Regions from separate parts of the Homo sapiens genome. Here all the other regions are linked to region 3. The links are contacts of gene promoters, found by promoter capture Hi-C in blood cells and fetal thymus (Javierre and others, 2016). All regions are on one chromosome and are shown on one strand. Each heading gives the region's core, a stretch centred on a gene start or on the middle of the fragment in contact. The rest is flanking DNA. Distances are from core to core; before and after follow the strand shown.

The links. The method cuts DNA at HindIII sites, captures the fragments that hold promoters and counts their contacts. A CHiCAGO score of 5 or more calls a contact.
Region 1: a contact is called between the fragment with the promoter of CETN3 here and the fragment with the promoter of ARSK in region 3, in 1 of 17 cell types (fetal thymus). The highest score is 5.8, in fetal thymus.
Region 2: a fragment that was not itself captured here is called in contact with the fragment with the promoter of ARSK in region 3 in 6 of 17 cell types (total CD4 T cells, total B cells, activated CD4 T cells and 3 more); the score reaches 11.7 in total CD4 T cells.

What each region holds. Positions count from the first base shown.
Region 1 is chr5:90,408,420-90,412,646 of GRCh38, reverse strand. CETN3 (centrin 3) reads left to right here and starts at 2,891. Exons shown (of 5, transcript NM_004365.4): 1 at 2,891-3,002. The coding sequence starts at 2,986. LOC731157 (a long non-coding RNA gene) reads right to left here and starts at 2,647. Exons shown (of 2, transcript NR_105024.1): 1 at 2,343-2,647; 2 at 1,978-2,147. RefSeq lists an enhancer at 2,922-3,121. The HindIII fragment of the contact is 6,726 bases long and covers 2,801-4,227 here.
Region 2 is chr5:100,901,190-100,905,688 of GRCh38, reverse strand. ST8SIA4 (ST8 alpha-N-acetyl-neuraminide alpha-2,8-sialyltransferase 4) reads left to right here and starts at 2,407. Exons shown (of 5, transcript NM_005668.6): 1 at 2,407-2,846. The coding sequence starts at 2,734. It overlaps LOC107986437 (a long non-coding RNA gene), which reads right to left and starts at 2,281. Exons shown (of 2, transcript XR_001742825.3): 1 at 20-2,281. RefSeq lists enhancers at 1,005-1,244, 2,025-2,264, 2,750-3,319, 4,457-4,499. The HindIII fragment of the contact is 412 bases long and covers 2,861-3,272 here.
Region 3 is chr5:95,553,556-95,557,739 of GRCh38, reverse strand. ARSK (arylsulfatase family member K) reads right to left here and starts at 2,639. Exons shown (of 8, transcript NM_198150.3): 1 at 2,336-2,639. The coding sequence starts at 2,461. SKIC3 (SKI3 subunit of superkiller complex) reads left to right here and starts at 2,763. Exons shown (of 43, transcript NM_014639.4): 1 at 2,763-2,804. The HindIII fragment of the contact is 6,579 bases long and covers 2,564-4,184 here.

The sequences.
Region 1 (4,227 bases), core at 1,642-4,141, 5.1 Mb after region 3:
GTCACTACCTTTTCAAAGCAGACATTTTTATTTACATTTGGCTGTCTCTGGAATTTCTGGTCTGATTACCATTGTACCAAATACATTTTAGTGTCCCATACAGCAATTTTTGTATTATTATTCTTTTTCACAGTTTAGTAAGTTATTTTTATAGAATTGTTGTTGAGATGGTCTTTGGAATACCTTTGTTCAATTCAAGAAAAATATGAGAATTTTGATTGCATCAAATTTAGGTTTAAAATATAATTAGTGTAACCACCTGTCTTATCTTTAGTAATAGATGATTAGACCCCAAGTTTCAGCAGAGCAGTTTTCCATCTAGAGATTTCTTGCCTCAACCTCCCGTGAAGCAAGAAGTGGTTGTCACTAGTTCTCACTAATTAAATATAATAAAAGTGATGCGTGTAAATTCCCTGTCACTCTCTTAAAAGGACACCCTATTGAAAACCTTTTAAAATCTGTTTGCCCAAATTATTTGCTTATAAAACGCACTCTGAGACCAAAAGCATCTCACAAAATCCTAGTGTTTCAGGAATGAGGTTTGAGAAACACTGGTGTTTAAGTATTCTGCCGATCATATTTAAAAAAGTATTTTCTAAACCCACTTTATATCCTAATAGAAAAGGTGTTACCTATTATTCAGTGCCTTTTTGACACTGAGATGATTTCCTTAACCTAACATTATAATTATTTAACACAGATTTATATTTTGAATTATCTTTGCACTTAACAAAAAAAAACTCAATTTAGTTATAGAGAAATGTTCCTTTAAGACAGTATCAAACTGACTTTGCTAACATCTAGGAATTTTGCACTTAAGTTCACAAATGAACATCAAACATGAGTCAGGCACTGGGGATACAATGGTGAGAAACATGCATAGCCTTCATCATCACTGAGCTTACACTGAGTGACTTTAAATGTTCTTTTAGGATGTGAAAGATTATGGCAGCTTCAAAAATTAAGCTAAGAAGCTCTCCATCATTTTCTATGACTTGAGTTTAAAGCACAAGATTTAGCTCTTATGATTTTTAATCATAAATCTGAGTGGGCTGGAGGCTTTTTATTTGTGAGTACAGAACTTTGGCATCTTTGTTCCAGTCCTGTCTGTAGTTATTGACTTAATTCAGTTTTCCACCTTTTTTGAGTTATGTTTTCCTTGAAAAGTGACTATTTCATTTTCTATTAATATTTATTGGCGGTATAAAATTGTATAAAATATTTTAATAATTTTTAAACCTCCCTTTTATTAAATTACCAACCTTACTAGTGGCACTATTCCTTTTCTTGTTACACTTCCTATAAGTCTTTGAATTTCACTGGTATTGCCAAAAACCAGCTTTATACTAGATTATGAGTACTTTATCAATTTTACCAATTTCCTTTTAAAACACTGTTCTCAAACTTTATCTTTACTAATTTCCTCTTCCTAATTTCAATTATACAATTTGTTCTTCGTTTCTAACATCTTCAAATAAATGCTTGGCCTATTTTTATTCTTTCTTATTTAAAATAATGTTCTCCTATAACTTGGTCTGTATCTTAAAATTTTAACATATAGTTTTTTTCAATATCATTATGTTCTAGTAACTACAATTTCTCTTTCCTTTTAGACTCAAAGGTGATTTATAAAGGTACTTTAAAATTTAAAATACGAACAAAATAAAAGTTCCACTTTTGTTTTTTAGGGGTGCTATCCCTTAGCTAATTTTTAGCTTATTCTATCATACTATCTTTCCTTGTGCAAATTTAGCCCATCCTTCTAGGTCTAACGTTTATGTCACCTCCTTTAAGAAGCATATCTTGTGTTCTCTCCCTTCTCTAAAATTTTATATACATCCCTTAAACATATAATGTTTATATATTCTCCGCCTTCAACTCCCATCCTCAGGCTATTTTATTCACGTTTATGAGATTTGCTGTTTAGCTCAGTATTTTGTGGATTTTCAAAAGATTCCACTCAATTTACCGAGCACCTACGCACCAGACATTTTATTAGGTACAAGGAAAAGCGTTAAATAGATATAATCACGGCCTCCAAGAAATTGAACCTAGTAAGAGACACGAATAAGCAGACATTCAAGTGAGCTTTAGGAGACTTGGTTTGGTAGTGAAGACAGTCTCATGTGTGTTAACAGCTTACAGCACTGAAAAATAAGAGACAGAAGGGAACAAATCCGTTTCAAACAGTTCAAAGGAGGAAAGAGAGGGAAAGGTGGTTTAGATACAGCTAAATCATAAATAGCCTGATAATCTAACCCTGTGATAATCCAAGTACAGCCACAGCACCTGCCTCAGAATCACTTGGAAGGCTTGTGAGGAGTAAAAACGCAGATTCATACCTACTGAAATTAGAATGGAGAAACGGACATTTAAGTCTGCATTTTAAACACATTCCCCAGGTACTGAGGCCATTCCAAGTTTTAGAACAGAGCACAGCCAATTTTCGCAGACCTTGTTCCTCAAGTACTCCCTCCTTCTAGCCGGAGGGTGGCCTGCAGCATGTCCCTTCCCTTCCCACCGCCGAAGCTGTCCATCCAGTTTCTGAATGGCGGCCCACAGACCGCACGGCTTTACGAGAGAGGAACACAGCGCCCACCCGCCAAACAGCCACACAGGGATCGGAGGCCGGACCCGCAAAGGATTCGGGGAAAAACGCATCGAGCCAATCCGAAGGGCGAGAGCGGCCCTAGATTGGGGGGGCGGGGGGGCGTTAGGAGGTGGGCGGGGCACAGAAAAAAAATTTTTTTTTCCTTGATTGACGTAAAACCTACCCAATGAAAATAGAACTGGTAAAGCTTCCGCCCCCTAATAGGCAGAACCATAGCGACATTTCAACCAATCCAGCTCAAAAGTGTCTATGTTGTGGGAGGTCCCTGAGGCCGCTGAGGTCGTTCGTGTCTGTTGAACGGCTGTGGGCGTCTTGCTGCCTTGGGTAGGGGGTTAAAATCGTTCTTGAGAGGAACGTCTCTGTGCGAAGAGATAATGAGTTTAGCTCTGAGGTCGGTAATAAGGAGGCGGCAGTGCTCTCCACACCCCGGAGCGGGGCCCAGGGAGGGTGTGTGTGGAAGGGAGGACGTTTGGGGCCGAGGCGAGGCAGGGGATGTAGTTTGGGACGCGGGAAAGGAGCCTAGGGCAGCCTGCCCGGATCACTCACCCTCTGGGCTCTGATGCCCTGCAGGGAACGAGACCAGTGCATTTCTGCTAAGGAGGTTATTTCTGTCAGCGCGTAGGGCTTTGGACTGCCAGAAGGTTGGGCTTAGTTGCGAGCGAGGTGGGAATGAAATATCGCGAGGCTTCTACTCTTGTTTCTCAGATCAGGTCGCGGACATCCCTTCATTCATCCGTGTGCCTGGTCAGGGCCCCACCTCGGCTGCTCCGCTGCTAATGCAATCACCCACCTATAAATTTTGGAAATAACAAAAACTCTTTCCTCTTCTCCCAGGGCCCTGCTTTACGGTGTAATTGGAGACCCATTTTAGTGACTTTAATTGGCAGTCTGTCTCTTGGATTTCCTAAATTTCTTGCATTTTTTTACCTTTCAGTTCTAACCTCTAACCCTCTGTTGCCCTCTCCCACTATGTAGACGTTGTACCGTAAAACTATCCATACACTTACGACACTCCGAAAATATTCCATGTTCTGCTAAGGGATAATCATGGTACCCTTGGATGGGGTCAGGGGTGGGTCGGTTCTGGACTTGGCCTCCAAAAGTCTCAGGAAGGAAAAGACTGACCCCAGGAATACCCAAGTTTGTGTCAAGTCAGGTCTCATGAAAGGAAGATCTTCCTCAGCTTTGTTATACTGCACCTACTAGTCACTTCCTAGCTTTTTTTTTTTTTTTTTGGAGCTTTCAGAGACCAAAACGACTTTCAAATGCAACTAGATAGGTGTTTTAAGTACAGTCAACTGGTTTGACATGTTAATGTGTTACCGGATTGTGTTTCAAAACTCGTTATTCCAGTGTTGCGGCTCCATTTGAAAATTTGGAGCACATTTAGATGGGCAGCTCTTAAGGAAAACATTTCTGGCTTTAAAATAATTTTTGCTTTTTTTCTTTAAGCGTTTCCAGAGTTTATGAGAAGTTAACCTCCGGTTTACATGTTAAATGAGACAAGACTCATCACATTTTTATATAGAATGAAGCACAAACATTGTATATTGGCATCTAATATTTGTCATATGTTTAGACTCATTAATATTTTCGATGGTTTGTTAATATCAATG
Region 2 (4,499 bases), core at 1,817-4,316, 5.3 Mb before region 3:
TAATATAGATTATACTCACTTTCCTCTTGAAGATTTTCTTGTGGCTTTCTCATTACAGAAGACTGTTCCACACTCTGGAGCCATAGAATATTATGAGTACACCGAAACTTTTGGACCAGCACTCTCCCTTACCACTTTCCCTTCTAACAGTACTGAGCCACTTCAAAGTTGCCCCAAAGCACCAGAGTTTTATTACTCTCTGGAGTTGCGCATACTCCTTTTTCCACCTGCAATGTTCTATCCTCCCTCTGCTTGGCTTACTTCCTTGTCAGCTTTGAAAACAGGAGTCTGTGTGTCCCCTTCACCCGGAAACTCATCTTCCGGGCTTCAAAAGGCTTAAACACCCCATCTGCTTCAACCCAGGAGCTTACTCAGATACCATATATATTTTAAATGATGTTTCTGATTCATGTTGCCATACTGTAAATTATTATTTTTAAAAGATGCCCCCTTTGAGTGAGTAGGATTTGTGTCTGACTAGATGCTAAGTTTTATTCATCTTTGTGTTCCCATCTCCGCACACATTGCCTGCCCCATAACCATTGCTTAAGAAATAATGAGTTTAATGAAACGATGCATATTACTCTATCCCTGACAGAGAGTGATGTTTTACCTATAATCTAAAATATAGTTGTCTACTGTTTAAAAATCAAAGTTTATCCTTGAGAATTTAGCATCCTAACCATGCATCCCTCTCCCACCCGACCCCTGCCCTCAGCCCCGGATCCCTTTTAACTTAAATAAGAAGCTGTTTTATTCTGGCAGTTTTTGCCAGAAGAAAAGTGAGTCTAACAGAAGTCAATCTAACAGAAATGCATTAATGCAGGCTGGATTTGCCTAGACATCAATAAACTCGAAAGGCTCCCTGTGGGCCACTTGTAGTGTCAATAAACGTTCGTAATTACTTGCTCCTTGGAGCATTTTTATACCCGACCCCGTTCGCTGTGCTGCAAAGAGGAAATTCAAGATCTCGGAAGTTCTTAACTTCTTAAACTCTAGAGGAAGTATGGTAAACACTGGCGGGAACCTTGGGTTTTTAAGCAAAGATGCTGGCTGTTTTCGTTGCTATTTTAAGCTGTCAGGCGACAAGCAACTCAGAATTCCCCTTCTTACTTCCGGCGGGAGGGAAGATTGGAATTGGGCCTCATCATTTCTGAGCGTGAAAAACCGCTGAAGCTACTGTTCAACCTGAAGGAACACGGAATTCAACTGGAGAGAAACCCTGGCGACCAGGGAGCTGGGGACCGGCGCATATAGATGAGGGAAATCCTGGCTTCCAGACACTGTCTCATGCTAGAGGTGCCTCCCGACCTACCAGCCAACAGTAAAGACCGGAACCAAGGCGTGGTACTAGCAGAGTAGCAAGCATCTCTCCCAATGAGGGCAACGACTGGAGGATGGTGGAGAGGTACTCAGAGTGAACAATCGAACACAGAACTCTTGAAAAGTGTCCCTGCCACCCAATACAAGTACGAAAAATGGTGGGACGGAGGAGAGGTGACAATCAGAGGCTATATATATAATTGAGACTTTTAGAGAGGACTTTGCTCTTCCTTCCTCCCCTCCCTTTTCTTTCCTTTCTTTCTTTCCTTCCTTCCTTGGTATCCGAATGTGTGTGGGTGTACTTGCGTTTAAAAGAGAGGTCCATGGTAGCTGCTTTTTTTTCAGAACTCTGTTTCTCCGCAATGAAGTTTAAGTGGGATTGGAGTTTCCTTGACTTCTGCGTGAGGAGTTTCCAAATGGCAATGAAAGGGAGGCGCATAAATATCCATAAAGTTCCTAATGACACCTCTATCATCACTTGTTTCCTGCAGAATCCTGAGCCAGGGTCGTCGTCCACCACCCATGCAGAGTGGGCCCATCGGCTAACAGGTTCATGTGTGTATTTGCACTTTCCAGATTGAGTAATAAAAGTCTTCTTCCTTCCACCGCCGTCCCCACCCCCGCACCCCGTTTCACTCCACCTTGGAGGGCGTGTTTTTGCGTGTGAGGGTGTGTGTTTAGCAAAAGCGATTGAAAGAAGGTACTCTTCTTGCAATCCACCCCTAGCTCTACCTGAAGCATTCCTCTGGCGGGACGCTTTTGTAATCTGTCCCCAGGCGAGGTGCCCTCTCACCTAGATGCGGATAGACTATCTTGGAGCTCCCAGGTCCAGAGAGCTGATGCTTTGATGTCCCAGGAGAGTGTGTGTGATTCTGCGTGTACGTGTGTGTGCATATGTATGTATGTGTGTATGTATGTATATGTGTATGTGCGCGAGCTCGCAGGCGCGTAGCACTGTGAGCTTCCTCTCCCGGCACAGAGCAGGCAGAGCCGGGGACGTTACTCTCCAAGCAGCCTCCGCCCCCTCAGCCTGGTGATTGGCTTTGCGCAGCGTTTATCTCCTAGCAAGAGGGAAGGGCCAGTGACGCCCCCGAACCCAGCTGCAGAAGCTGCCGCCACCTCCAATGCACAAGGTGTCTCATCTGAAAAGAAACCTGAGCCCCAGGGAGGCGGCGCGGAGCGACCCTGGCAGAGCTGGCGCAAACAGGGCGAGAGGTCGCTGGGCAGCGTTCGAGGACCAGAGGGAGCTCGGCCACAGAAGACCCCAGTGATCTGATCCCGGGATCCCGGCTCCAAGCTCTCCTCGCATTTTACAGATTTCACCCCCGCGACTATCTCCCCAAAACGGAGCCTTTATATCAAGAGAAGGTGCGGGAGCTGGGGCAACCAGGACTTTCTCGGGCACCCAAGATGCGCTCCATTAGGAAGAGGTGGACGATCTGCACAATAAGTCTGCTCCTGATCTTTTATAAGACAAAAGAAATAGCAAGAACTGAGGAGCACCAGGAGACGCAACTCATCGGGTAAATGCAAAGCTTCATTTCAGGATATGACAAAAAGTCAAGCCATAAATGAAATGTGAATATAGAGGGTAGAGTGATGGTTAGGATAGCATGTGTGTTTGTTTGAGCTTGCGCGTGGTTAGTGTCATGAATTAAATAACAAAGGCTGTTGTTGAGATGTGCGTGCTTCTCTAAGCTGTTCCCAGTATGAGTTCAACTTGCTCTGTGTGGTTGTGGTGACAGTTGTGTTGGCCCTGGGTGCTCTCTCGCCAAAGGAGAAGTCACTGCAGAAGTGTCAACAAAGAACGTGTGTCCTTGTCCTTTTAATCTGTGGGCAGAACTCAAGAGAAATGTCTTTATTCACCAAACGGTTGCCTGTTTTCAATGTCCTATCACCTAAGGAGATACTGGAGATAGATGGTTTCTCGAAGGGCTGAAGTTAAAGCTTAGAAAGCAGGAAATAGGTATACTCTGTTTCTCTACTTTTTTTTTTTCTATTTGACGTTGGATAGATTAATGTGTTATAATTTGAATTAGAAACTCCAGTACCACTAAGGATACTTCCTTATTTGTTCTTCTACGGCTAAAACGCATGGGCGTCATGGTTACAGTTTTAGAAAGAAACTGGGTACTGTAGCTTCACACAGACTATATTTCTGCTATTTTTTTTAGTTTGTCTAGATGAGTTCAGACTCTCCCCCGCCCCACTAAGTTCTCTAAATATCACACTTCCTTCCACCCGCTGGCCTCTGTGTCTTTGAAGTTTACCCAGGAGGTGGTGCAACTTTGTGTTGCTGACATAGCTTGGAAGGCTTTTTCTGAGGATGTGAACCTGATTGTCAACTCTATTCAAAGTCCTGTTTCGGAAATCCTCCCTGTTCCGGTTTGGAGGCGTCCTCTATCAGAAACTACACACCAGCAGAGATGCCTGCCCAGTTTATATTTTTCTCTGACATTGATTAAAACAAAGAAAACAGCCCTTGCGTGTGTGTGTATGTGTGTGTGAGAGAGAGAGAGATGGGACTGCTAACACACACACATGCTCTTAAACTTCCTGCACTCCATTTCTTAATATTCCTGCTCCCTAGGTAATAAGCATTTATTTAAGCGAGCAAGATGCAGGTTGATCCTTACAGAAGGACTTGCTATTCTGTAGAAAACCAGGAAAACAGTAGCACAGTCAAAGCGGACTGGAAGAGAATGAAAAAGCTAGCAAGGAATGGGCTGGAATGGTCGTCATGCATCAACGAATCTATACATGGTCTATTCTGAGGGGGTAAAAAAGACCGGTATGAGGTCGTTTACACAAGACTGGGTGGCTTGAAAATCCAATCTAGCTCAGTTGTTAGAAAAGCAGGACTTTGGGCAGGGGCGTGGGCATCCCTTGCAGACCTGTGCTTGCCAGGCAGACAAAGGGGTCTTTAGAAAGGTGATGAATGGGCGCATGGGGCTCCGATGAGAGGCAGAGGCTAGAGCTTGAGGGTCGAGGCTCTTTGTTCCCTCCCGGGCCGTGGGCTAGGAGGATAAGCCTGATCCCAGACAAAGCGGCCAAGGCTCACTAGGACTCCGAGGGTTCGGGCCCTTGGCTGGGACCCTGGAGAGCAGGAGTGGGCGGAGCGAGTGAGAAGAGGGTCGCCAGATACTGCCGAGGTGTCCATCTCCGAGCCTCCCTAA
Region 3 (4,184 bases), core at 1,390-3,889:
TTATTATCCAGCTTAACTGCTCTATCTTAGCCTGCAGAGTTTTAGAAATGATAAATCACAGTGTCAAGAATCTAACAGCATACCAAACTGGTATAATCATAGAGAGAGGAATTATTTTAAGTTTAAAGACCAACATTTTTACTATATAGTTGAATATACCTAAAACAAAAACTTCAAAGAAACTGTAAGCTGCACTCAGGACTAGCATTATTTCTAGTAATATTACAGTCTTATTTTCAAACACATTGATATATACATATTATATGTTTGGATAAAGCAAATAAGTAATTGCATTAATGCATTTAGACCAAAATATTTGGCATAAAACAAAAAAGATATAAGTATAAAAATCAAAGAATAAACTTGTAATCTTAAATTTGAATGGAAAGTATCAGTATGATCTCACAATTTATTTTTCTCATTCTAAAATATTATATACTTTCTAGATTTGTCCACTGGAAAGGTCTAGATGCAATGAACACCCTAACACTCAGACTGTGGTCTCTAAATACAAGATGGGACAGGAAATATGTATTGTGGACATGGAACTCTGTTAAAGCAAGCTGTCAAATACTAATGGGGATGGGTCAAAAGGACTCAGAACCACCTGAAGGGGCTTCCACTGGCCAAAGATAGGACAGTTTGAATATTAACAAGTATGTGAATGCAAAAATTTTTTTTATTTTTTATTTTTTAAAAATTTTTTTATTTTTATTTTTATTTTTTTTTCGAGACGGACTCTCGCTCCGTCGCCCAGGCTGGAGTGCAGTGGTGCGATATCAGGTCACTGCAAGCTCCGCCTCCCAGGTTCACGCCATTCTCCTGCTTCAGCCTCCCGAGTAGCTGGGACTACAGGCGCCCGAAACCACGCCCGGCTAATTTTTTTGTATTTTTAGTAGAGACGGGGTTTCACTGTGTTAGCCAGGATGGTCTTGATCTCTTGACCTCGTGATCCGCCCACCTCGGCCTCCCAAAGTGCTGGGATTACAGGCGTGAGCCACCGCGCCCGGCCGTGAATGCAAAAAATTTAAGCACAAATATAGAAAAATCTATGCATTCATACTACACTAAAAAAAATAACAAACCTATATATCTCAGTCATCTTTGGAAGTTTCTGGGATGTTGTGATCCACATTCGGATTCCCTTTTAGGAATGAACAATTGCCTCTGCTGAAGACAGCTGCTTTGCCCAACACCATGCCCCATTCTAGGAGCAGCCCACAACCAGTGGCCATCCAACATGCAGGTGGAAAGGTCTGTTCTCCTCACTCCTATTGGAAAGCAGCTCTGAAGCACCATACTAGTTTGAGAACTGTCATTCATAAGATGGCAACAAAATTCAGCTTCTCCTCTGCACAATCCTGCTTCCTTCATTTGCCTTTGATTACAAGAGCACTCTGTAATAAAATGCCATCTAGTCAATTTCCAGTACTGCCCATTCTCTAAGTTTAAATCACAAAGATAACTTTAAGTAATATTTTCAAAAAATCCCATGGGCACATCCAGACTATGTAATTTTAATCATCAGGAATCTACGAGAAAGGAAATACAACATATGATTACAAACACTCTTTAGTGCCAGATATGCTTAACACCAACATCTGTGTGACCACAGTAACACCGAGTGATAATAAACTAATATTACAATTAATAACCAAACAATTGTCTAAGCAGCACTTTTTAAAACATGGATCATCCTAAAAGCATCGCGTAAGGTTGACAGTAGCACCTTTGGCTTGGGAAAGTTTCAAAAACTGTTTAAGTTTGGGATTCAGCCACATTACCAACACACACACATACACACAATTTCTCTGGAATACGGGGGAGTGAATCAAGTTATACCAACGATTCCATTTGAATCAGCACTAACAGGATTATCACAGACCTGGGTAATAAAAATAAACTTTCTTCACTTCTCACCCAAACATGAATTCCTGCAAACTTGAGGTGAACTGGAAAATGACTTTTGGAAAGCTAACACGCTTTTATGGAGATGCAGAATGTTATTTTACCACACAATTAAACCAAACGGGGGTATGGACTGAAAGTTCATTAGTCGTGGTAAAATAATTTAGCGAATCGAGGTCAGTATTAAAAAAAAAAGATCTGCAAAGATGTTTTCAGTGTTTCACTATTGTTTTACATGTTTGCATAGGTATGTGGTGTACGTGTGAGTACACGGGGCCTCACATAAAATGTATTTCTTTCTTTGCATCGGGGTAAAAGGTGTTTGAAAATGTCTCAGGTTCTGCTCCCCAAAGCCTGCAGCACAGGCGGCGGCGGTGAGGTCGCCGATCCCCAGCGGGGCGCCCCTCCCCTGCCTCGCGGTACTTACGAAGGAGTCGCTCACGACCAGCACCACATTGGGCGCTTTGGCTGCTCTCCGCCTCTGCTCCCCTGCTCCGGGGGCCAGTACCGCCAGCGCCAAGGCTGCGACCACCGACACCCACAGCAGTAGCATCGCCGGTAGCGGTTCTGAGAGCCTGCCGCCGGGCCAGCCGCCTCCCTCTGGCGTTCTCTCCCTAGCAGAGCAGGGCAGGGACAGCGAACAACTCCCAAAGCTTGCAGTTTGGTTGCTTGATAGTAACGCCGAGCTTCACCCGCAGAACTACAACTCCTATCAGGCGGAGAGCGCGCACATGCGCAACAGAGAAATTCCCGCTTTTACCCACGTTAAGACCTTTTAATCAAATACCGAGCAAATCAGAACCCAGCCACTTCCAGTCACGTGAATGAGTCCTGGGAAAGGCGCATGCGCTCTCATTGCAGCCTCGGCGTTTGTAGAAGAGGAGCATCTGCTCCAGGTGGGTTTGGATTTCTGTCGGTTTTGCACAAGGGATCCTAAAGGCGATTGAAATGGTACTTAGAGAAAGAAAGGATCGGGGCCGGGGCTGTTCATTTTGGGCCGCGCAAGCGTGGCTGAGTGTTCGGCGAGAGCGTGAACTGGGCGGCGATGAGGTGGCGGCGCGGCTGTCACTTAAGTTGAATAGGGCGGTGCCTTGTGGGGCCTCTGGGTGGACCGCCTCAGGTGCGCCGTGAATGCCTTAGACCCCCCCGAATACCTTCCCAGGGAAATCTCTAGCCTGTCTCATCTTATTGCTTCTCTTACCCCGTGCAGTCAGGATTTACTGTGCTCCCATGGGGCGAGGAGCGGGGCCTAGTAAGAAGTTTCAGGCTGTAGGCAGGGGAAAGCATAGCTGTTCCTTGCCTTCAGAGAGCAAAGGAGATAAGCGAAACTGGAGGGGGAAATGGGCTGTGTGACATGTTCAGTTAGTTGACGTAGGTTCAGAATATCATTGTTTTGCTGCAGAATAAAAACCGGTCTCTTTTGACTGTTGAATTCCTTTGGAGAGTTCTGGAAGAAGCAGATTTCTGTCCCAAAGCCAAATTCCAATTTCTGTATCTAGTTTCGGGTATATAATTTGCACATCACACTAGTAGTTTTAATATTCTGACAGTTAAAAGAGGAGTTATACTACTTACTTAAGTCAACTGAATACTAATATCTGGCAGGTTTTTTTTTGCCTAAGATAATTGTAGTAAGGAACAGATTTGTTTATTTAATACTCACATGGCACTTAGGTGCTGAGCGTTATACTAAGCATTTACTGAGCATCTGCTGCGTGCCACGTACTTTTATATGGAATATTTTCTATAATCCTCACTTTCACCATATTGCAGATAGGAAAACAGGCTTAGAGAGGTTAAATGACTGGCCTGAGTTTACACAGGGAGCCAGTCAGAGCACGACTGAAAATTGAAGAGTCTGTGCCGTAACTCACTAAATGCTCTGTCTGCAGTTAGTTTATCTGTTAGTGTAGCAGAATTGTTACTCAAGCAGCATGATAAAGATCTGCGGGAGCATGCAAAAACGTAAACAGTGTTGGGCGCGGTGGCTCACGCCTGTAATCCCAGCACTTTGGGAAGCCGAGACGGGCGGATCACCGAAGGTTAGGGGTTCGAGACCAGCCTGGCCAGCATGGTGAAACCCCGTCTCTACGAAAAATACGCAAAATACTGGGCGTGGTGGCGGGCGCCTGTAATCCCAGCTACTAGGGAGGCTGAGGCAGGAGAATCACTTGAACCCAGGAGGTGGAGGTTGCAGTGAGCTGAGATCGCACCTTTGCACTCCGCCTGGGCAACAAGAGCAAAACTCCATCTCAAAAAAAAAACAAAAACAAAAA